3 separate regions of the Homo sapiens genome follow, and all the other regions are linked to region 3. Evidence: promoter capture Hi-C in 16 types of primary human blood cells and fetal thymus (Javierre and others, 2016). All regions are on one chromosome and are shown on one strand. The core of a region is centred on a gene start or on the middle of the fragment in contact, and the rest is flanking DNA. Distances in the headings are between cores, read along the strand shown. Region 1 has its middle 88 kb from the start of CREB1. Region 2 has its middle 130 kb from the start of MIR1302-4. Region 3 holds the start of CPO (carboxypeptidase O).

Evidence for each region. Contacts are between HindIII fragments. The CHiCAGO score rates a contact against its expected background, and 5 or more counts as called.
Region 1: a contact is called between a fragment that was not itself captured here and the fragment with the promoter of CPO in region 3, in 1 of 17 cell types (total B cells). The highest score is 5.0, in total B cells.
Region 2: a contact is called between a fragment that was not itself captured here and the fragment with the promoter of CPO in region 3, in 6 of 17 cell types (neutrophils, total CD4 T cells, naive CD4 T cells and 3 more). The highest score is 6.9, in neutrophils.

The regions. Positions count from the first base shown.
Region 1 is chr2:207,440,550-207,443,249 of GRCh38, forward strand. No RefSeq gene overlaps it. Among named protein-coding and RNA genes, the nearest start is that of CREB1, 88 kb to the right of the region's middle. The HindIII fragment of the contact is 9,014 bases long and covers 1-2,700 here.
Region 2 is chr2:207,397,484-207,400,308 of GRCh38, forward strand. No RefSeq gene overlaps it. Among named protein-coding and RNA genes, the nearest start is that of MIR1302-4, 130 kb to the left of the region's middle. The HindIII fragment of the contact is 4,854 bases long and covers 1-2,825 here.
Region 3 is chr2:206,938,161-206,940,860 of GRCh38, forward strand. It overlaps CPO (carboxypeptidase O), which reads left to right and starts at 1,358. Exons shown (of 9, transcript NM_173077.3): 1 at 1,358-1,507. The coding sequence starts at 1,440. The HindIII fragment of the contact is 5,939 bases long and covers 1-2,700 here.

The DNA of each region.
Region 1 (2,700 bases), core at 183-2,682, 500 kb after region 3:
ATAGATTATAATAATTATGTATTATGTAATTATATTTATAGATTACAGATAATAGATTTTATATATATATTTTTTTGTTTTGTTTTGTTTTGTTTTGTTTTTGAGACGGAGTCTTGCTCTGTCGCCCAGGCTGGAGTGCAGTGGCACAATCTCGGCTCACTGCAAGCTCCGCTTCCCGGGTTCACACCATTCTCCTGCCTCAGCCTCCTGAGTAGCTGGTACTACAGGCGCCTGCACCACACTCGGCTAAGTTTTTGTATTTTTAGTAGAGACAGGGTTTCACCGTGTTAGCCAGGACAGTCTCGATCTCCTGACCTCATGATCCGCCCATCTCAGCCTCCTAAAGTGCTAGGATTACAGGCGTGAGCCACCGCGCCCGGCCTTTTTTTTTTTTTTTTTTTGAGACAGGGTCCTGCTCTGTTGCTCAGGCTGGAGTGCAGTGGCACAATCATGGCTCATTGCAACCCCGACCTCCAGGCTCAAGTGATTTTACCACCTCAGCCTCCTTAGTAGCTGGAACTATAGGCACATACCATCATGCCTGGCTAATTTTTTTAATTTTTTGTAGAGACAGGATTTCGCCTTGTTGCCTAGGCTGGTCTCAAACTCCTGGCTTCAAGTGATCCTCCCAACTTGGCCTCCAAAAATGCTGAGATTATAGGCATGAGCCACCACGCTTGGCCAATTTATATATTTATAATTTAGATTTTATATTTATACTGTAATTAGTATATTAACTTACACTTACATCTGATATATATTTTTAATATCTATCGAGTCAATTATTTGCATTCTCTTTCCTAGTACCTTCCTGACATCAAGTTCCCTGAGACGTGAATTTTAACCAGAATGCTATTTGAATTTTAATCAGAATCATAGAGTAAAAATTGCTCTGGGAGACTGTTTTATAGAAACTCTAGAAAAACCCAGTGAAATATGCCTACTCCACAACTGTATATGCTGTTCTAATGACCAGATAATGGAATCCCCAAATACAGTAGCCTTTTACCATTAAAAGCATGAGTTGTTTTGGAACAGAGAGAGTGACGAGAAGCAAAATTGATAAGCTGTATGGGATAGGCAGAATCGCCCTCCAAAGATGTCCAAGCCCTCATCCCTGGAATCTGTGAAATATGTTACTTTGCATATCACAGTGGACTCTGCAGATGTAATTAAGGTTACTGACATGGTTATCCAGGTGGCCCTAATCTAATTAAATGAACCCTTAGGAGGAGTGAATCATATTTCTGTTGTATACCTGTGCTGAAGTTCAGTACATGCTACCCCAAAATATGGTACCTTGGCATTTGAGAAAACAACAGAAGCAGGAAGGTCATTCTCACCTTGACATTGCCTCTTCTCCCCTAAAGTAGGCTATAAAACCTAGCTGAGGCCAGGCGTGGTAACTCACGCCTGTAATCCCAGTACTTTGGGAGGCGGAGGTGGATGGATCACCTGAGGTCAGGAGTTCAAAACCAGCCTGGCCAACATGGTGAAAACTCATCTCTACTAAAAATACAAAAAAAATTAACTGGGGCGTGGTGGCACATGCCTGTAATCCCAGCTACTTGGGAGGCTGAGGCAGGAGAATCGCTTGAACCTGGGAGGCGGAGGTTGCAGTGAGCCAAGATCACGCCATTGCACTCCAGCCTGGGCAACAAGAGCGAAACTCTGCCAAAGAAAAAAAAAAAAGACACCTCGCTGAACTTCCCCTGAAATAGATCATAAAACCTTCTTTCCACCCTATACCTGGAAGAAAGGAACATCTTTATCGCTGAAGAGACAGGGAAGAATCTGAACAAACAGGCCTTGCTAAGTCCCCTCAGTTTATTACCATTAGCTCATAGCCTCTTTGTCTAATCATACTTTTCCATGACTATCCTTTTCTTCCTTAAACTTAACATAGAAATACATGGGTTTCCCTGTCTCTTTGGATCTTTATTTCTGAAGGCTCCTATGTGATGTAAAACTTCTATTAAATAAATGTCTGTGCTTTTCCCTTATTAATCTGCCTTTATTATAAGAGCCCTAGCTGTGAACCTAGCAGGGGGTGAGAAAAGAAATCTCCTCTACACCTGTTTATATTTTCTACATTTCAACATTGAATATTTACTTCTTACATATATAGTTACATAATTAGGACAATTGTTCTTAATTTATATGAAAAGAAAAAAACAAAATAGAAAATAACTCCCAAGACTGTAGGACCTGAGAATAGAGCAGGCTGCTTGGAGATGGGCAGAGGAAGACATGGCAGAAACTTCAGTTGTTAGGATTATTTAGAACTATTGTTGTTAGGACTATTTAGATTACAAGTGAAAAAAACCAGCCTGGATCACGTGTCCATCCCTGGCCCAATTATAGTCACCAGCAGAGTGATGCACCAATTGTGGGTGGAAGAGCCACCCAACCAACAGAGAGTGTGAGAGAGGAGGCCCAAGGGAAGTGGGAGAGGCTGTTAACAGAAGAAGGGGGTGAAGAAATGCTCACTCGCCAAAAAAGGCTCCATTACAATATCTCCAAACCTAACAGAAAGAGAGAAATGGTCAAGGGGCATGAGAGGAGGGGGCATAACCAATGATAGGAAGAAGAGTAAAGAGAAGACCATCATAAGCTCAGTTTTTATTTATTTATTTATTTTTGAGATGGAGTCTTGCTCTGTCGCCCATGCTGGAGTACAGTGGGACGATCTCAGCTCAT
Region 2 (2,825 bases), core at 288-2,787, 460 kb after region 3:
ACAAACCCTCCCAGTCAAGTGGAAGGGGCTTCAACACAACCCCTTGCATTGGAGAGACCAGCATCTTAGTCCACTAGGAAATGATCTTAGGAGATGGAGCAAGAAAGAGTCCTTGAGAGAACCTGGACTGCCCTCCAAGATAATAACTGTCCCTGGAGAATAAATGAGCTGAAAAGACAATAGAGTGAGTCAACTGCACCTCTATCAGCCCAAGGCAGGATGAAGATTTTCTGGGCCATGTGATGCCACTAGGGGTACCCATTCTAGGGGCCTCTTGACAGGAATCAGGATCAGGGACCCCCCAGCAAAGGAAAGTTCAGTGGAGTATATGAATGGAGCAAAGAACTGAGAGGGTGTCACAAGAGGTCAGCCAGAGAACACACTCCCCTATGCAGGACAGAGTCCCCTGTGTCGGGGGTTCTGGTGGGGAGGGTCCCCAATTACCTACAAAATACACCAACTAAAGAAATTCGGCAATGGGGCATTTGCCACACAGGGAACTCTGACACCGTTGTATGAGTAGCAGCCAAATTAGAAACTCGGTCACCGTCTACCCCTCCTCCCTTTTTGACAGCCCAACTCTGTAAGAGTCTGAGAGCAACCTGCTGATGTGGGGCTGAGAATGAAAGAGCCAAGTGGAGAACCAAAAAAGGGAATCAGGCCATGCTTCGTTGCCTGTCTACAGCCCTGAGGAGTCACATTTCCTCTGAGAGACCCTGGGACAAAGTGGAGAAGGGGGTGTGTTGGGGAAGGAGCTTCCATTAAATGGAAGATTTAAGTTTTTACATTAGATTGGGTTGTGCTATTTTATTTTATACTTGAAAATGAGCCTGTTTGTTAACACGTTGAAATTGACTGAAAGACTGTGCGGTTTGTGCAAGTTGTCACCAAGGAGGCAAAGAAAGGAAATCTGATCAAGTATAATAATTAAGGCCAGACGTGGAAGAAGGATAAAAGTTGTTTCTTAGTTAAACTCCACCCTCAATAAACCAGTTAGAGTTGTAGTAATGAAAAGCCACCGGTGAGATGCTGAGTTAAGATAGGAATACAGTCATGTCACAGCTCATACATCCAAAATTCCTTTCCAGTCAAAATCCAGCTACAGTGTATCTGTAACTAGGTGAAATGAGTTTATAAGAGGCCTGAGAATGTTTTCTAAACAATTTACATATGAATTTAACAAATAAATTTGAGGAATTTTTTAAGGGAAAGCAAATTAATGCAAATGAAACTAAGACCAGAAAGCTGATATTACTAGGGAAGCATATTTATTAGGCATCTTCAATGTGCTAAGTGGTATTTAGAGGCATAAGAAGAATTAGAAGATATGGCTCCTATTCTTGGAACCAGCTGGATGAAATAAATCCATGCTTAGAAGAAAAAAAAAAACACTAGAGAAAAGAATAATAAAGCAAAGTACATACAATCAACTGCTATAATAAGGGTAAGAGGATATACTGCTGTACAGAAATGCACACACATGAAGGTGGAAGCATGGTGAAGAGGATTTGTATAAATGACAAAAGGGGAAATAGACCATCCAGAAAGACAGACGATATTGAAAATTCTTTCTTGATGCAGATTACAAAGTTCGGATAGAGATGATCCATGGTAGTCAATGGAGATTTCCATTATATGGGCATCTGTCGGCAGTCTCATTATAGAAGAAAAATGAGTGCCTAAGAAATCAAGTAGCTTTGCTGTGAATTTTACTGCTGGGAAGGATACCATGGGGAAATGGTTAACAGGATTTTTTTTTTCTAGCCAGAAGAGTCCGTTGATAATCTTAACCAGTCAGGAGGCTTCAGGGAAACTGATGGTGATATTTTGGACTTCTAAATATAGAATGAATTAGAAATAACCTGGACTTTAGGAAAATAAGTGTACCTAAAGCTATGTTAATGAAATAATAAAGACTGAAATGCAACCCAATTAGAGAAACTATGGAGAATTTAGTTGGCAAAAGGATTTCTTTGAATTCAAATTTGAGCAGAACAGAGACCCTTTGTTTGAAACGTCAGCAGGCCCTTTGTTCTCCCCAGTGACATATGGCTTTAAAGTCTAGCTTAGCTTTAAGTCAATCACTTAATCTGGGTTTCTCTGTGAACTACCTTTAAGACTCCAGAAAGACATTTCGAGGTGCATGGGTGAGTTGAGTGGTATAAATAGTGCCCCATTTGAGGAGAGAAGCCTTTCTGCCTTATTCCTAGATGGTTGGTCTTTGCATAATAACTCTGCTACCTACTTTTTGCCACTTGTGAATTTCCTGTTCATAGAGGACATTAGGAGAAATTGTCTCATGTTTGGGGTGTACCAAAACATTTGAACGAGAGGAAAAGAACTGTGAACATTGGGGAAGGCTGCTCAAGTTAGATTTTTGTCATAGTGCACATTAAGTTGTGCTGACCCAGATATTCCAATTTCAACTGTTTCCCACATCCACTAGAAAATCTTAGTATCAGCAAGCATGTGGCCTGGCGAGCTGGGAGTATTAACTTGTGGTCTGACCAGGATTCTTCGTCATTTTAGCACAGCCTTGGCCATGGTTAGCAAGGCGGTTCTAACCTTGTTATTCTAATTATTCTCTCACTTTGGGTGTGATTCCTGTTAGTCCTTCCACTTAAAACAGATGGAAGAGTGACCTGTACATTGGGAAAGGTCATCTGTGTCTTGATTTTTTTTATCTGGAAGTTTTCACTTATAAAGATGTTGTAATTATAATTATTATGATTATTTTGTACTTAAATTGGGCAGTGCTGAGATCTAAAACAAACTCTAGGTCTGATTATTTTCTGAAGAAAATAACATTGTACCTCATATATACC
Region 3 (2,700 bases), core at 108-2,607:
TCCCTGGTTCCTGACACAGAGCTCCTAAAACCCTTGGAATTTCCTCAGTGATAAGATCAATAAAGGTGAAAGGGCCATTTTTGTTATTCATGACGTCCCTTTTGACTATGTCTAAGTTTAAGTGAACAGGTAACTTTTGGAAAGTTTCTAAGGATAGCGGCTGGTTGCCAGGAGAATCAGCCATGTTATTCAGTAATCCCCTCCCATCTCTGGGGAGGAAAGAGGGACTGGAGATTTATTTAATCACCAATGACCAATGATATGATCAATCATACCTATGTAATGAAGTCTTCATAAAAACACAAGGGAACAGAGTTTGGAGAGCCTCTGGGTTGCTAAACACATGGAGGGACTGGGTGGATGGCATGCCTGGAGACAGCATGGAAGCGCTTATCTCCTCTAGTTTTTTAACTGCATTCTCTTTACTTGAAACTGTAACATTTGTTTGTATACTCGTTTATTTTTCTCTCAACTCTACTGTGAGTTCCATAAAAGAAGGGACTCTGCCTTGTTCACCCTTGTATCTTAAGTATCTAGCATAGTGTCTGGTATACAGTGGTACTCATGAGATTTTTGTAGAATGAATACATGAATACAGGGCAGAAGATTTAAACTGGGTCCCTAAATGCCAAGGACTCCATTTAAATACTCTACCTGCTCTGCGCTAAAGTTTGCCTTGCTCAGTTAGACTATTAGCAATGGTCTTAACATGAGTCTTTAATTTTACTGGTCAATGAGATTCAAGCATAACTTGGCTATGTCTGAAAACATGGCGGAGTATCTGACAGAGTCCTTCATGTAAGAGGGGCGTGGGGTAAAATCCACATGGGAAAGGATTGAAACTGTCTTCACTGCTCAGATTTGAAGAGATCTGGGTTTGTTTAAGAAGCTGGTGATGTGGTTCATCAGAAAAAGAGAAGGCATTTGACCCCAATCAAAGCCTTAGATTGAAGGAGGAAGTGGAGATTCTGAATAATGACCATGTCCATTTTGACCAGAGCAGAGTGTTCTTTCTGGTCTCATGAACAGGCTCATGATTCACAAAGACTAGCCTACTATTCCCATTCAACCTGTGTGAGGGGAAGAGCAGGAATGATTGCTCCTGAGCACGAGTGATGGGGGTTCCTAGAAATACTCCAAGGTGACTTTACATAGGGAGGAAATTTATTTCAGGATCTGGTGAAGTTGAGAGCTCACGTAAATTTGGTTTTAGAGAAGAAATGAAATATCAAATGGTACAGCATTTCCCACACTGGAAAAGGTGTTTGAGGACATGAGAGAGTTAATAAAGCAATTGCCCGTGACTTTCTGCTGAGACATCCACTAACTGATTTATCTCATCTTGATTGTGGGAGCCACAGTCTTGATGCATTCATTCTCAAGGACACTTGATCCACTGCCAGAGAGGCCCAGAATTTTCTAACTTACTGTGTGGCAGAATGAAGCCTCTGCTTGAAACCCTTTATCTTTTGGGGATGCTGGTTCCTGGAGGGCTGGGATATGATAGGTGAGTGTAAAGTGGGAAGAGGAACTGATTATTATAATTTAGATTGTCTAAATTGAATGGTTTCTTTTTAAGACCAATGCAGCTGGCTTCTCCTTCCTTGCTACTCATATATACCACCATGAGATGAGAATAATAAAGACCACTGAAATTTATCACTGAATAATCATAATCCTCTAATAATCCTTGAATAAATGAATAAATATCTAGCAAACATTTCCTAACACAATGCATGAGATATACAAATAGACATGTCATGTTTTGTGATTGGAAAAAGAAAATTGTAATACAAATTCTATATCCTTCATTTTCATAGTATCTCATTTGGTAAATCACATTATCCTAATTATTAAGAAAAATGTTAAAATGACCAAATAATTTCACCTAGAGATAAGTACTATTAATGTTTTCAGATAGCTACCTGATTATGTATGCAGCACTATTTCTGAAATATTTCACTTAAATTGTATTACAGAAATTTTCCTATGGCATTAGCAATTTATTTAAAACAGTTGAAATTGCTAATAATATTCTGTCATTTAGTCAATTCCTGCTTTTTCATTTTTACAAATAATGCTGTGATGAGCAACCAGCTACATAATTTTTTTTGCTTTTTGCAAATCTTTAATTATTTCTCTAAGAAGTGGAATTACTGGGTCAGTAACTGAGGAAAATGTAAGGATCTTGCTACACATTGCCCAATTACCCTCTAGAAAGATTACATCAGTCTACACTTCCAATAACAGTGTATGAAAGCACTTTTTAAGTGTTTGGCAAATTGACAAGTAAAAAATACACATTGTTGACTTCCTTTGTATTTTGTTGATTTATAAGAGTAAATATTTTATTACTAATTTTATCATTTTATAAATTGCCCATTAATGTCATTTGCCCATTTTTGTGGTCTCTCCCTACTCTTAATGAATCATAAGTTCTCTAAATACATTCTATTGAAATCTGTGTGTGTGTATGTGTGTGTGTATAGTTTCCATATAAAGTGTGTTTTTCCCTTGTTCATATGCAAATCATTATTTTGCTCATTTAGCATATCTCATGAAGTATATGTGGTTATAATTGGTATTTCCTCTTTTGCTTCATGGTTAAAGAAATCTTGCAATGAACTTGCTCTCACATAACATAGAAACCCACTCCAATTTTTGTCCCACAATAATTGTGTGACCTCAGCTTGTTCCTTA